2 separate regions of the Homo sapiens genome follow, and region 1 is linked to region 2. Evidence: promoter capture Hi-C in human tissues and cell types (Jung and others, 2019). All regions are on one chromosome and are shown on one strand. Each heading gives the region's core, a stretch centred on a gene start or on the middle of the fragment in contact. The rest is flanking DNA. Distances are from core to core; before and after follow the strand shown. Region 1 holds the start of LOC124900830 (a long non-coding RNA gene). Region 2 holds the start of FAM149A (family with sequence similarity 149 member A).

The links. Contacts are between HindIII fragments. The study calls those that stand out against the background at their distance.
Region 1: a contact is called between a fragment that was not itself captured here and the fragment with the promoter of FAM149A in region 2, in 2 of the 25 tissues and cell types used here (bladder and spleen).

The regions. Positions count from the first base shown.
Region 1 is chr4:186,020,827-186,026,544 of GRCh38, forward strand. It overlaps LOC124900830 (a long non-coding RNA gene), which reads right to left and starts at 2,139. Exons shown (of 3, transcript XR_007058420.1): 1 at 2,102-2,139. It also overlaps the pseudogene RNU4-64P. The HindIII fragment of the contact is 3,937 bases long and covers 2,440-5,718 here.
Region 2 is chr4:186,103,454-186,109,237 of GRCh38, forward strand. It overlaps FAM149A (family with sequence similarity 149 member A), which reads left to right and starts at 1,251. Exons shown (of 14, transcript NM_001395294.1): 1 at 1,251-2,189. The coding sequence starts at 1,624. LOC124900171 (a long non-coding RNA gene) reads left to right here and starts at 4,241. Exons shown (of 2, transcript XR_007058421.1): 1 at 4,241-4,282. RefSeq lists a silencer at 1,171-1,230. The HindIII fragment of the contact is 14,554 bases long and covers 1-5,184 here.

The DNA of each region.
Region 1 (5,718 bases), core at 3,158-5,657, 79 kb before region 2:
TAGTAAATCTTTACAGAATTGAAATCTATCTGGTGTCTCTAGAAATTGACTTGAAGCACAAGGTAGCAGAAAGTACTTGTCAGAAGAAGACAGATGCTCAGTTCGGAGGAGGGAGAAACAGGGAACCCAGAGGAGGGCGAAGGCGTCACCTGTGAGGCCAGGCGTGTGGCCGTGAGCAGCCCCGTTGTGTTGCAGAGGTTTCACAGATCAGTAGTTACTGTCTTCATCTGGACTATAGAGAGCACATATCACATAGGCCACAAAGCCTGTCATTCTCCACAGTAGAAAACTTTTACAGGCTGTTTTTATCTCTAGAAACACTGGATTGTTTGGCAGTAACAAGAAACATCTTTCCACCCACACACGCCCACGGAAGCATGTTGAACATCAGTGAAGTACGTTACACTGGGGATCGCACCGCGTATCTTCTTATATAGCAGTTTTTATATAGTAGTTCATTAGGGGAGCAGAGATTTTTTTTCTCTCTCTCCCCTCCCTTTGTAATTTTCAGAATAGCAAATAGCATGATCAAAGCCATCATCTCCTGTTTTCCTTTCTCTAGAGTTTAAATAAATCAGGCTGAAAAATCTCTGAGCCTATGATAACAATCACTCATTGATAGCTTATCACTTAGGAAGAGGTTTCAAGGGCTAAAAGACGTAATGAAACCCCAACGCAGAACATGTAAATGAACAGACTGTCTCTTTCCCCTCATACATCCCACGCTACTCAGTACAGAGGCCAAAGCTCTGTGAATGCACAGGGCTGGGGAACGAGATGCCATCTGGAACTGGAGATGCAAAGCCACATCCCATCCCTGATCCGTATGGCCCAGGCCCAGCCTGGGAAGGTGTGGGGTATACTGACTGCGGGGGTCCCATCACTTCTCCTAGAACGGGTTCTCCGCGCGCTGTGCAGAGAACAATACTGTCCTCTAGCGCTCAGAGATCAGAACTGGAAATCAAGAAGCTTGTTTTTATTTCTCCTCCCATATTGTCAGTGATTCCCAGAGCAATATACCACTCCCAAAGCAAAGGGAATGGATTGACACAGTTCACAAAATCCAGGGCAGAATCATCCTGGCTTTGCCTCCCTTGTCTGGGTAATGACAGCTGCAGGGTTTTATCTGGTCTTTGGGGCAGTGCAGCATGTATTTAATCTATCCTTAGTTCAGCTTTGCCAAGGGAGAATCAAGATTTTTCTATCTTGATTAAATATGCATGTAATTTGTCATCAGCTAAATGAGCAAACAATATCTCCTTGTCCACCTCATAGACTTATGATGAGAATCAAATAAAAGCATAAAACAATGTAAAAGTATAAAACTGAATAAATGAGTTATTATTGAGGAAAATGCACATTTATCTGTTATTTAAAACACTTCTTTAATTCACTTCTATGTTTCAGGATTTTTACCTAGATATATAACATCACCATTTATATACATGCAATGAAAACATAATTTATATTCTATGTAATTACGTCCTTTCTAGCCCTACCGATAAGTCTTACCACGAAGAAAATGCTTTATTTTTTTGTGACTTTAAACTCTGGACAATATGTGTCTTCAACCTCTTATAATTCACCCACAGGGATTCTCTTCAAGGATGGTATAACCCACATTTCCAGAGCAGCCACACAGGACAGCCGCCTCTGCACAACCATTACCATAAGCATGCGTGTGTTTGGTACAGACAGAAATGGATGATGGGGAGTGTGGGCCCTACGTTGGAGAAGGTTATATTTGCTACCAGATACCACCACCAATTTGCTTAAAATTGCTTTCAAGCTATTAAAATACTGAGAAGGGGATGATCATAAATACTTAGATGGCTGAATTTTTTGCTCTGTTAGGATAAAAATTGGATGGTAATACTTGGCTTCAAATTATACAACAGAGTAGTGACTTTTCTCACCCTTGCAAGAAAAATATTCTCAATGAAATATCAGATTCAGAAACAAAACAAGAGAAAATGCCTTTTCATATGCTTCAGTAGGGAAATGGGATGCAAAGGAACACTTCTAATAAGGAAACATTTGCTTAAAGTGATTTTTAAGGAAAGTTCTTTTATAATGACCTTTAAAATAGTTAAGATCATACCTGGTGGCCAGGCGCGATGGCTCATGTCTGTAATCCCAGCACTTTGGGAGGCCGAGGCACCAGATCAGTTGAGGTCAAGAGTTTGAGACCAACCTGGCTAACATGATGAAACCCCGTCTCTACTAAAAATACAGCAAAAAAAAAAGTTAGTGGAGCATGATGGTGGGAGCCTGTAATCCCAGCTACTCAGGAGGCTGAGGCATGAGAATCACTTGAACCCACAAGGCGGAGGGAGCAGTGAGCCAAGATCAGGCCACTGCACTCCAGCCTGGGCAACAGAGCGAGACTCAGTCTCAAAACAAATAAAATAAATAAAATAATATAAACAGATCATATCCGGCAAATGTTGACAACTATTTTACCTTCATACTTATTCAAAATTTCAAAATATTAACAGCAAAAGACTTAAGTAGGAGTGCCAAGGCAACCACAAACGGGCCAGCAGTTTAGTTTGCAAACAGAATTGAATTGTACAGGGCAGGGCTCACACACTGACCCCGGCCCAGGGGGACCCTTAAATATCAAGGCAGGAGAACATTGGTGTGTCAGCCTACGTGGGACCAAACTGCAGAATTTCCTACAAGATCCGTCTTTCCTCCTTTTTTATAGTCCGATACTCTCTTTGTCAACCTGTTTCATTAGTTAGTAGGTCACAAAAAGGGAAACTTCTCAATTGCTGAAAAATCTTTCTCTAGTTCTTAAAATCACAAGGTTTGTGCCTGTAACATACATGTTTTATATCTATTCCGACAGTTGCCATCCAGTGTGTATTGTTACCACGTTTAATACATTAAAGTAAATCCCACTGCACCATGCGTGTGGACTGCCGTGCACACTGACTGTGCTCTTTTTGTTCAGTATGGCTCCGCTTTTAAAGCTGTGGTCTGTGTGTGTTTGTGTGGATGACGTGCACGGCTTTCTGAAACGATGCTCCAGTGGTGGTGAAGGGGACAGCGGGGCTGGACTCTGCCCACCCTGGCCCAGCTGGGCACCCAGCTCCCGTCCTGGCTCCTGCTCCTGTTCTGCCCCTCTCACCAGATTCTGAGCCTGGGTTTGTTCACAGACTGATCCCCAGACTCCAACGCCTGGGACTTGACACCTTCTGCTAAAACTCTTCTCTACATTCAACGTGCCGCAGGCTCACCTTTCACAAAACGACTAGATTTTGGCTGATGAGCCCTGTTCCCGTGGGCGTCTGACTGTAGTGAGTCCTTGTTTGGGCTGCACCGTTCCTGTCTCGGCACCGATGTAGTCGACCGTCCAGGTGAGGCCGAACCAGGAGAGCTTTGGCAGCGGTGAAGCCTCTCCATTCTTTCCAGACCAGTGCTGAAATACACCCCAGTGGTTCCAACAAATAAACTAATATCCAGACATCCACCCCTCCAGGGACAACAAATATAGAGGTTAATACAAATATTGAGAGGACAGGTGGGGCGTGGTGGCTCATGCCTGTAATCCCAGCACTTTGGGAGGCCGACGCAGGTAGATCACTTGAGGTCAGGAGTTTGAGAGCAGCCTGGCCAACATGGTGAAACCCTATCTCTAGTAAAAATACAAAAATTAATCATGGTGGCAGGCACCTGTAATCTCAGCGACTCGGGAGGCTGAGGCAGGAGAATTGCTTGAACCCAGGAGGCAGAGGTCGCAGTGAGCCGAGATCACGCCACTGCACTCCAGCTGCAGCCTAGGGCCGAGTGAGACCCTGTCTCCAAAAAACAAAACAAACAAAAAATAAAAAAAAAAAATAAAATAAAAATAAATATTGAGAGGACAAATATGAAAGAAAGCAGATTAGATATTGGCATCAAGCTTTTTAAAGAAAAAAATACTGATTTTATTCAAATGCAGCGAAGTTTCTATTATTAATACTGCCACCGCAGAACCCGCTGACCTTGCGAAATGCTGGGTTCACCTGCAGGACGCAGACACAGAGTTCACTGTGGCTAAGACCAGGTCAGCCTATGGGATCTAGAGAGTTCTGATCCAGGCAAACTCTTCCAGGAAATGGAACTGTGTATCAGAGAATGAGAAATAGAAGGAACACTTTTCTGTGAATGCCTCTTTACTGTCTCAGTATAGAAAACTTACACAAAATTCAAGAAGCAACTCAAATAACTCTGCCTCCTCATGCCCCTGCCTGCTACTTATTCAGATGCACGTTCCCACCGTGTTTCTCCCACTCTCGGGGCGGCACTCATGACTCTATGACGCTCGTTTCTGTGCCTTGCCTCCCCCAGGATTGTGAGCGAGGGTAAGACAAGGATTGTGCCTCATTCATCTCAGTATCTCAGCTCTTCGTAGAGTGATGTGCAAATAGTAGGCCCTTCAAAGATGCGCGGAGTTAACACAGAGTTCATTTCTGAAGCTTTTGGCAGCATGGATGCTGTTGATCCCTTGCTGGGAGGGAACTAAACTTCAGACCACCCATGTGGGATCTTGAAACAGAAACAGGGAATCCTGTTTTCACTTCATATGTAGATGGCTTTACAAAGATGTCACTCCCACCTTAGCAAGGAGGAAAAGCCATGTGATCTTCACAGTGCCAACTTTTCTTGAGCACTTCAGAAAGCTGAGGTTGCAAGGCAAGCAAGTGAAGTCAGTTCTGAGGAGTGACAGGTCCCTCGGGGAGAATCGGGCCGCACAGATGGTTTCACCCTTGGCAGAGTGTGAGAGGAGGGTGGATGGAGCAGCCGTAAAAGCAGGTTGGAAGAAAACAGCCAGGATGGGCCGGGTGCGGTGGCTAACGCCTGTAATCCCAGCACTTTGGGAGGCCGAGGCAGGCGAATCACAAGGTCAGGAGTTCGAGACCAGCCTGGCCAACATGGTGAAACCCCATCTCTACTAAAAATACAAAAATTAGCTAGGCATAGTGACAGGCGCCTGTAATCCCAGCTACTCGGGAGGCTGAGGCAGGAGAATCGCTTGAACCCGGGAGGCGGAGGTTGCATGAGCCGAGATCACGCCGCTGCACTTCAGTCCGGGGGGCGACAGAGTGAGAGTCCGTCTCAAAAACAAAAAAAGCAAAACGAAACAAAACAAACAAAAACAAAACAAAAAACCCAGCCAGAATGTAGCAAATTCTTAAAGTCTGAGTGTGAGCTTGTGTGCTAGATGGTTGAGAAAGCCCCGGTGGGCCTGAGACACAAGGAGAACCTGCATTCACCTAGTGTTAGCTCTTTCCACCATCTCCACTGTGTGCTCCTGAGGAAGATCTGGACAGGGAAGGACAATCCAGCTACTGTCCCTGACACAGATACTGCTTCAGGGGAGGGGAAGAAGCAAAAGCGCTGTTTGTCCTTGGGGGAAGACCTGGAAAATACTCAGGTGCAAGATCCTGTGATGGATGCAAAGCGAAGGCGGTTACCATGGGGAAGGGAGCTGGGAAGCTTTGCAAGCAGGAGGAATAGCTGCTGGGCAAAGTGACACCACTTTGTGGAAAGCTCACTATCACCACCTTCCTCTCAGCCCCTACAAGCCCAGAGAACAGGCAAAGTGCTTTGGCGGAGGTGTCTAGAAGAATCTAGTGCTTCTGTCACCAGGTGTGTGAAAATATCTCAACTCCTCACAAGGTCCACTGCCTTGCGCTGCTCATTTTCAATTAGCAATAATCATGCCTT
Region 2 (5,784 bases), core at 1-2,500:
TGCTTAATGCAATCTTGAAGCAGACAAGTGCCCAGTACATGTTGGTGGCAGTTAGATGTAGAAAAGGGATCATGACAGAAGACTTGTTAACTGCCTCCAAATAACGCAAAACTTAGCATTACCTGGAAGTTTACCGTGGCTCAGACTCCAGTTTGATAACTTACAAAAGATTCAAGTATATAAGCATGAATGTCAGTTTATTCACTGCCAGACTTAATTCATCTCTTTTCCCTACCCCACATCAGGAAATGTATCTCCTGAGATCCTCTCCTGAATATTAATGGACAAACTCCATCAATATCTCATTACTATTTTTTTGACACAGGGTCTCACTCTACTGCCCAGGCTGGAATGCAGTGGTGCGATCACGGCTCACTCCAGGCCCAAGCGATCACCTCAGCCTCCCGAGTACCTGGGACTACAGGCATGCGCCACCAGGCCCGGCATTTTTTTTTTTTTTAAATATTTGTAGAGATGGGGTCTCCCTATGTTGTTGCCCAGGCTGGCCTGGAACTCCTGGGCTCAAGCCATCCTCCCACCTCCCAATCCCGGTGCTGGGATTACAGGTATGAGCCACCGAGCCTGGCTGCAGTATCTTATTTTTTAACTCTGTTCAACACTGACCCCACACCCCTTTAGATGCTCGCACCTATACGCTCTACCTTTCACACATATTTTTCAGATTAAGCAAAATACAATTTATTCCACTGAATAGAAAACGTTGCCTTCCATATCTGTCTTTGAATTTGTAGTCGTTCCGATTATAATTTGAGTTCTCAAACATTTGAATTACACAGTCTCTTGGTTCACTCCGACAGGTGTTTAAACAGGTGTGCGTAGGTCTTTCTACTTCAGCTCTCAGAGCCGGTCTTGTTTGCAGGTTAGTGGGTGGCGCACCTCGCGGTTGCTCCCACCCCACCCTTAGTAACAGGGTTTGAGTAGGACCCTGGGGTGGGGGAGTGGATGCTGCTGTTTCAAGCTCGTTCGCCCAAATACATCTTTCTACCCACCTTCCCTATCGTCAGAGAGGTGGCCTGACCCCAGCACGTGCAAGCTTGTCAGGCTGGGTAAGTTCCAGAACCTTCTGGAGCCAGGATTCTCTTTCCCAGCCCTGGGCCCTGAGCTCGGCGGATGGGATCTGCGAGGCTCGGGGCGCAGGGGAAATGGGGGCGTGTTCCTTTAAGGCGGAACCAGGCGGGGAGTGGGACGTCCCCCGCGGGCACAGCCCGAGCCGCACCTGGGGCCCAATTAGCCTGGAGCGCGGCCGGGTGTGTTGAACGTAGCAACCGCGGGCGGCGGGCGGCGGGCGGCGGGCGTCTGGGGCGGGCGGCGGCCGCGCTTCCCGGGGCTCCTGGCCCTTCGGCCCTCGGGGGTCTCACGGCGCTGGGACGAGGCGGGGCTGCTCTCCGCAGCCGGGGCGCTCGGCGGACGGACCCGGGCCGGGGAAGGGCGACCCCAGCGGCGCGGAGCTGAGCGTCCTCGGGGAGGAGAGGGAGCCAGGGGCCTCCGGGGCTCCGGGTGCGGGGACCTCAGGCTCCTCGCCCCGGCCCGGGCCGCCTCGGCCGGATCTCCGCGGTCTGAACTCTCGGGCGGCGGCGAGGACGGCGTGTCCACTGTCGAGGCATGAAGGCTGCTGTGCTGGACCTTGGGTCTCTCTTGGCCAAACTCTTCGAGACCTCGACGGCGCCCCCCGCAGGCCCCTCCTCCAGACCCTCGGGAGGTGCTGCCGCTGCAGGGTCGGGGGGCTCCAGGGCGGGCACCCCGTTGGGTACCGCCCCGACCCTCCTCCGCGCCCTGGCTCCGGACTCCCCCTCCGCCTCGCGGCGGTCGCCCGCCCCGCTGCTCTCCTCCCCCTACTCCCGGGGCTCCGCCGCCAGCCGCGCCGCGGGAGCAGTGGGGACCCTGCTCTCTTGGCCCAGTAGCCCTAGAGCGGGTAAAGCCCCGCCCCAGCCCCCCACTCCCTCCGGCGGGGGCTGCTCCCCTGCTCGCCTGGTGGTCCCAGCGCGGCCGCCCTCGGGCCCCGGCGGGGTCTGGGCCGCGCTCCCCAGGAACCCGCTCCAGCCTGGCCCCGGAGAGCGAGAGCTCGGCGCCTGCGTGGCCCCCGGGGCTGGCCCCAGAACCCTGTTCCTTACGCTGCCTGACATCGGCGAGGAGGGGGCCTCGGACGGCGACTCCGGGGATGGCGAAGCGTGAGTAGCAGCGTGGTCCGGGCGCGTGTACCTTTTGCCGGGACCCCCGACCCCTCCGCCTGCCGCACTCACCTTCGCAGGTGCACTTCAGGAAATGAAATATTTGTAGTAACTTTCATAACCCCCTGGGCACCCTCCTTGCACGTTTCCTGGGTTTTTACTCCTTGGCTTTGCGGGCTTTCAGACATAAGCTGTGACATGCTTTGTCCAGCTTTCTCAGAGTGAATCCTAAGGGGCCTTGAAGGAAGGGACAGAATTTTGTTTCTCTTCTACCAGAAGCATTGCTACTTAGAGTGTTTGTTTGGTTTTCTTAAGGACTTTTTGAAGTCCCTTTCTTTGTCTCAGAATATAGCAGGTGTGCAGGGAAACCGAATACACACGTCTGCAGCAAGTGTTTTAAGAAGTGGTGAGACCTGGTGCTTTCCTAATGTCTAAGGACCAGTCCCTAGTCTTATCCTAAGTGGGATGGGTCTCCTTTGTGTGACATCTAGTTAATTTACATATGCATGACATCATCTGACACAAATGGAGTTGTAATGGCCAGGACACGTCTGATTATTACCCTAGAGCTCCTGAGAGCTTTCCACAGTGCCCTGAGTCACTGCAGAAACGTTGACTTCATGGGAACATTTTCACTGGGAATCGGAGGCCGATTCCCTCAACACACACACACCCACACAACACCCCTTTCACTTCCAAGAGTCGTGATAAAAACATTGCTCTTTTAAAATGTGTTTTAGAACTAGGATGAATTTTAATTTTTAGAGTGGAGCATATCGTTAGCTATTCTTGAGTGGGTAAATTTTCATCCTGAATGCTGCAAAGAAATAGTGAAATGGTCAAAGACAGATGAGCCAATTCACAGACTGAGGTTTCTGCATTGTAATCTAGTGAGGCCATTCCCTACTCCCTCCAAAAAATCCTGAGTAATTTTTGCATTCATACTGATCCTGACTCACTCACAATTTAAATAATTACAGTTTCACAAAATTGAATGATATTCATGTCAATATGAAAACAAGCGGCCGGGCACGGTGGCTCACGCCTGTAATCCCAGCACTTTGGGAGGCCGAGGCGGGCGGATCATGAGGTCAGGAGATCGAGACCATCCTGGCTAACACGATGAAACCCCGTCTCTACTAAAAATACAAAAAATTAGCCGGGCGTGGTGGTACGTGCCTGTAGTCCCAGCTACTCGGAAGGCTGAGGCAAGAGGATGATGGCGTGAACCCGGGAGGCGGAGCTTGCAGTGAGCCAAGATCGCACCATTGCGCTCCAACCTGGGCGACAGAGAGAGAGACTCCGTCTCAAAAAAACAACAACAAAAAAGAAAATAAGCAGTTAAGCAAAAAGTTGTTCCCACTCATTAAAAAATACTATATTATGACATATGTTTATCAACTGATAGTTTTCCCTATCAGTTAATTGCTTTTGGAAAACTCACTGGAATACATATGCCTGAGGAATTAGATCTTTGTTATTGGCAACTGGTCCTTAACATTTATGCAATTAATGTTTTATGAGCAAACAGATCTACACACTGACCTTAAACTCTAGTCTTAGTGCTTTTAACAAATAGGCACTGAAATATGCAGCATGGCCAGTGAAACTGGTGTTAGTTTCAATTCTTGAACATATTAGCTCATGTTTATATTGTGCAAATATTTGGAATAGATACTTTTTGAATAACACTGCATTTGGCATTATTTACATAAGAGATTATTCTGAATTAACAAATGCATTCAATTTTATGGACAGTGAAGAAATTGAATTTTTAAATTATTATTACTTTTTGAGATGAGGTCTCCTTCTGTCACCCAGGTTGGAGTGCAGTGGTATGATCACTGTTCATTGCAGCCTCAACCTCCCAGGCTCAAGCGATCTGATTCTCCCGTCTCAGACTCTCGAGTAGCTGGGACTACAGGTGTGAGCTACTATGCCTGGCCAATTTTAAAAATGTTTCTGTGGAGACGGGGTCTCCCTATGTTGCCCAGGCTGGTCTTGAACTCCTGGCCTCAAGCAATCTTCCCACCTGGGCATTGCTGGGATTACAGGCATGAGCCACTGCATCTGGCCATGAAATTGAATTTTAGGTAAGTGCCATGAGAAGTAATATACACAGCTAGGTGCTTTGCAGAATCCTCCTGAGTTTGTGTGTTCCTACTGTCTGCAGCAGCAGGTAGAGGCACACACAGGCAGGAAGCAGACTGGCCCTCTGAGCATACCATTTTTCCTTTCAGATCCACGACTACTCACATTCCCTTCCTCTCATCATACCCCACTCCTTTTTCAATCACTAAAACATAAGAGACAAAGGGGAAGGAAGAAAGTATTAAGACGGCTTTTCTTTCAATACTGCAGACTTTGCACCTTGAAGGATTCTTTTTCCCTCCTGGATTTCTGTGGTAGTGATTTATAACACCGAATAAACAAACATAAGACAATGAATTTAAATTTGCTCCTACCATCTCATCTGTCACTTGGCAGATAGCTGCTGCTGTTAGCCTGTGTGGTTAATATTAAAATCAGGAATTTAAATTTCAAAAGCCTGGAAACTTGGAAAGGGAGAAATGGGTAATGTCAGAGAAAAAGTTTAAAGAGTGATGAGAATGTGAATACATATAAAGGAAACCGTAAACCTGTCTGCAAGAAATGCGGATCTAATTTTAAAGCTGTGGCCCTGAGTTCTAAAGGAAAACCCTATTAGCAGTTTGTACTTTTTTGACAATAACGCATACATTTTACATTTGCCTGATTCTGTACTTGGCTTTAAAAAAAAAAAACAAAAAACTAAAAGTAGTGAAATTAACTTGAGTAGGAAAATATGCAAACTCTCCTGCAATTTAGAGGCTTTTTTCCAAGCAAAGATGCTGAATAGCAGCAGGGGTTTTTAATCTCTGACCCAAGAATTCCGTAAGTGAAAGGCCCATGGAACAGAGGCTGCCCCTTTTGCTCCACAGGGCGTACTGACTGCACATCTGAGCCAGAGGCAGAGGATACTGATCTCTCTGTCTTCACCTCACTTTCCTGCATCCCTGGATACGTGATCCAACACCTTTGATCTTCACCTTGGCTTCCCTGTCCATTTCATGTATATATTATGCCTCAGTGTTTTTCAGTCTCACTCATCCCTCTTCATTACCTCTTTTCATACTTCTGGTTTGAACCACACAATACACCTTGTAAAGGTCTTATTCTCAATCTCTGGTTTTTTTTTTTTTTTGAGACGGAGTCTTGCTCTGTCGCCCAGGCTGGAGTGCAGTGGCGCGATCTCGGCTCACTGCAAGCTCCGCCTCCTGGGTTCACGCCATTCTCCTGCCTCAGCCTCCCGAGTAGCTGGGACTGCAGGTGCCTGCCACCACGCCCGGCTAATTTTTTGTATTTTTAGTAGAGAAGGGGTTTCACCATGTTAGCCAGGATGGTCTCGATCTCCTGACCTTGTAATTTGCCCGCCTCGGCCTCCCGAAGTGCTGGGATTACAGGCTTGAGCCACCGCGCCCGGCCGGTCTTATTCTCTTATTTGTTCTGCAAATGTAAGAATTCCTAGCAATACGTAAGGTGGATAGATAGATAATTGCTGTGTATGAATGTTGGT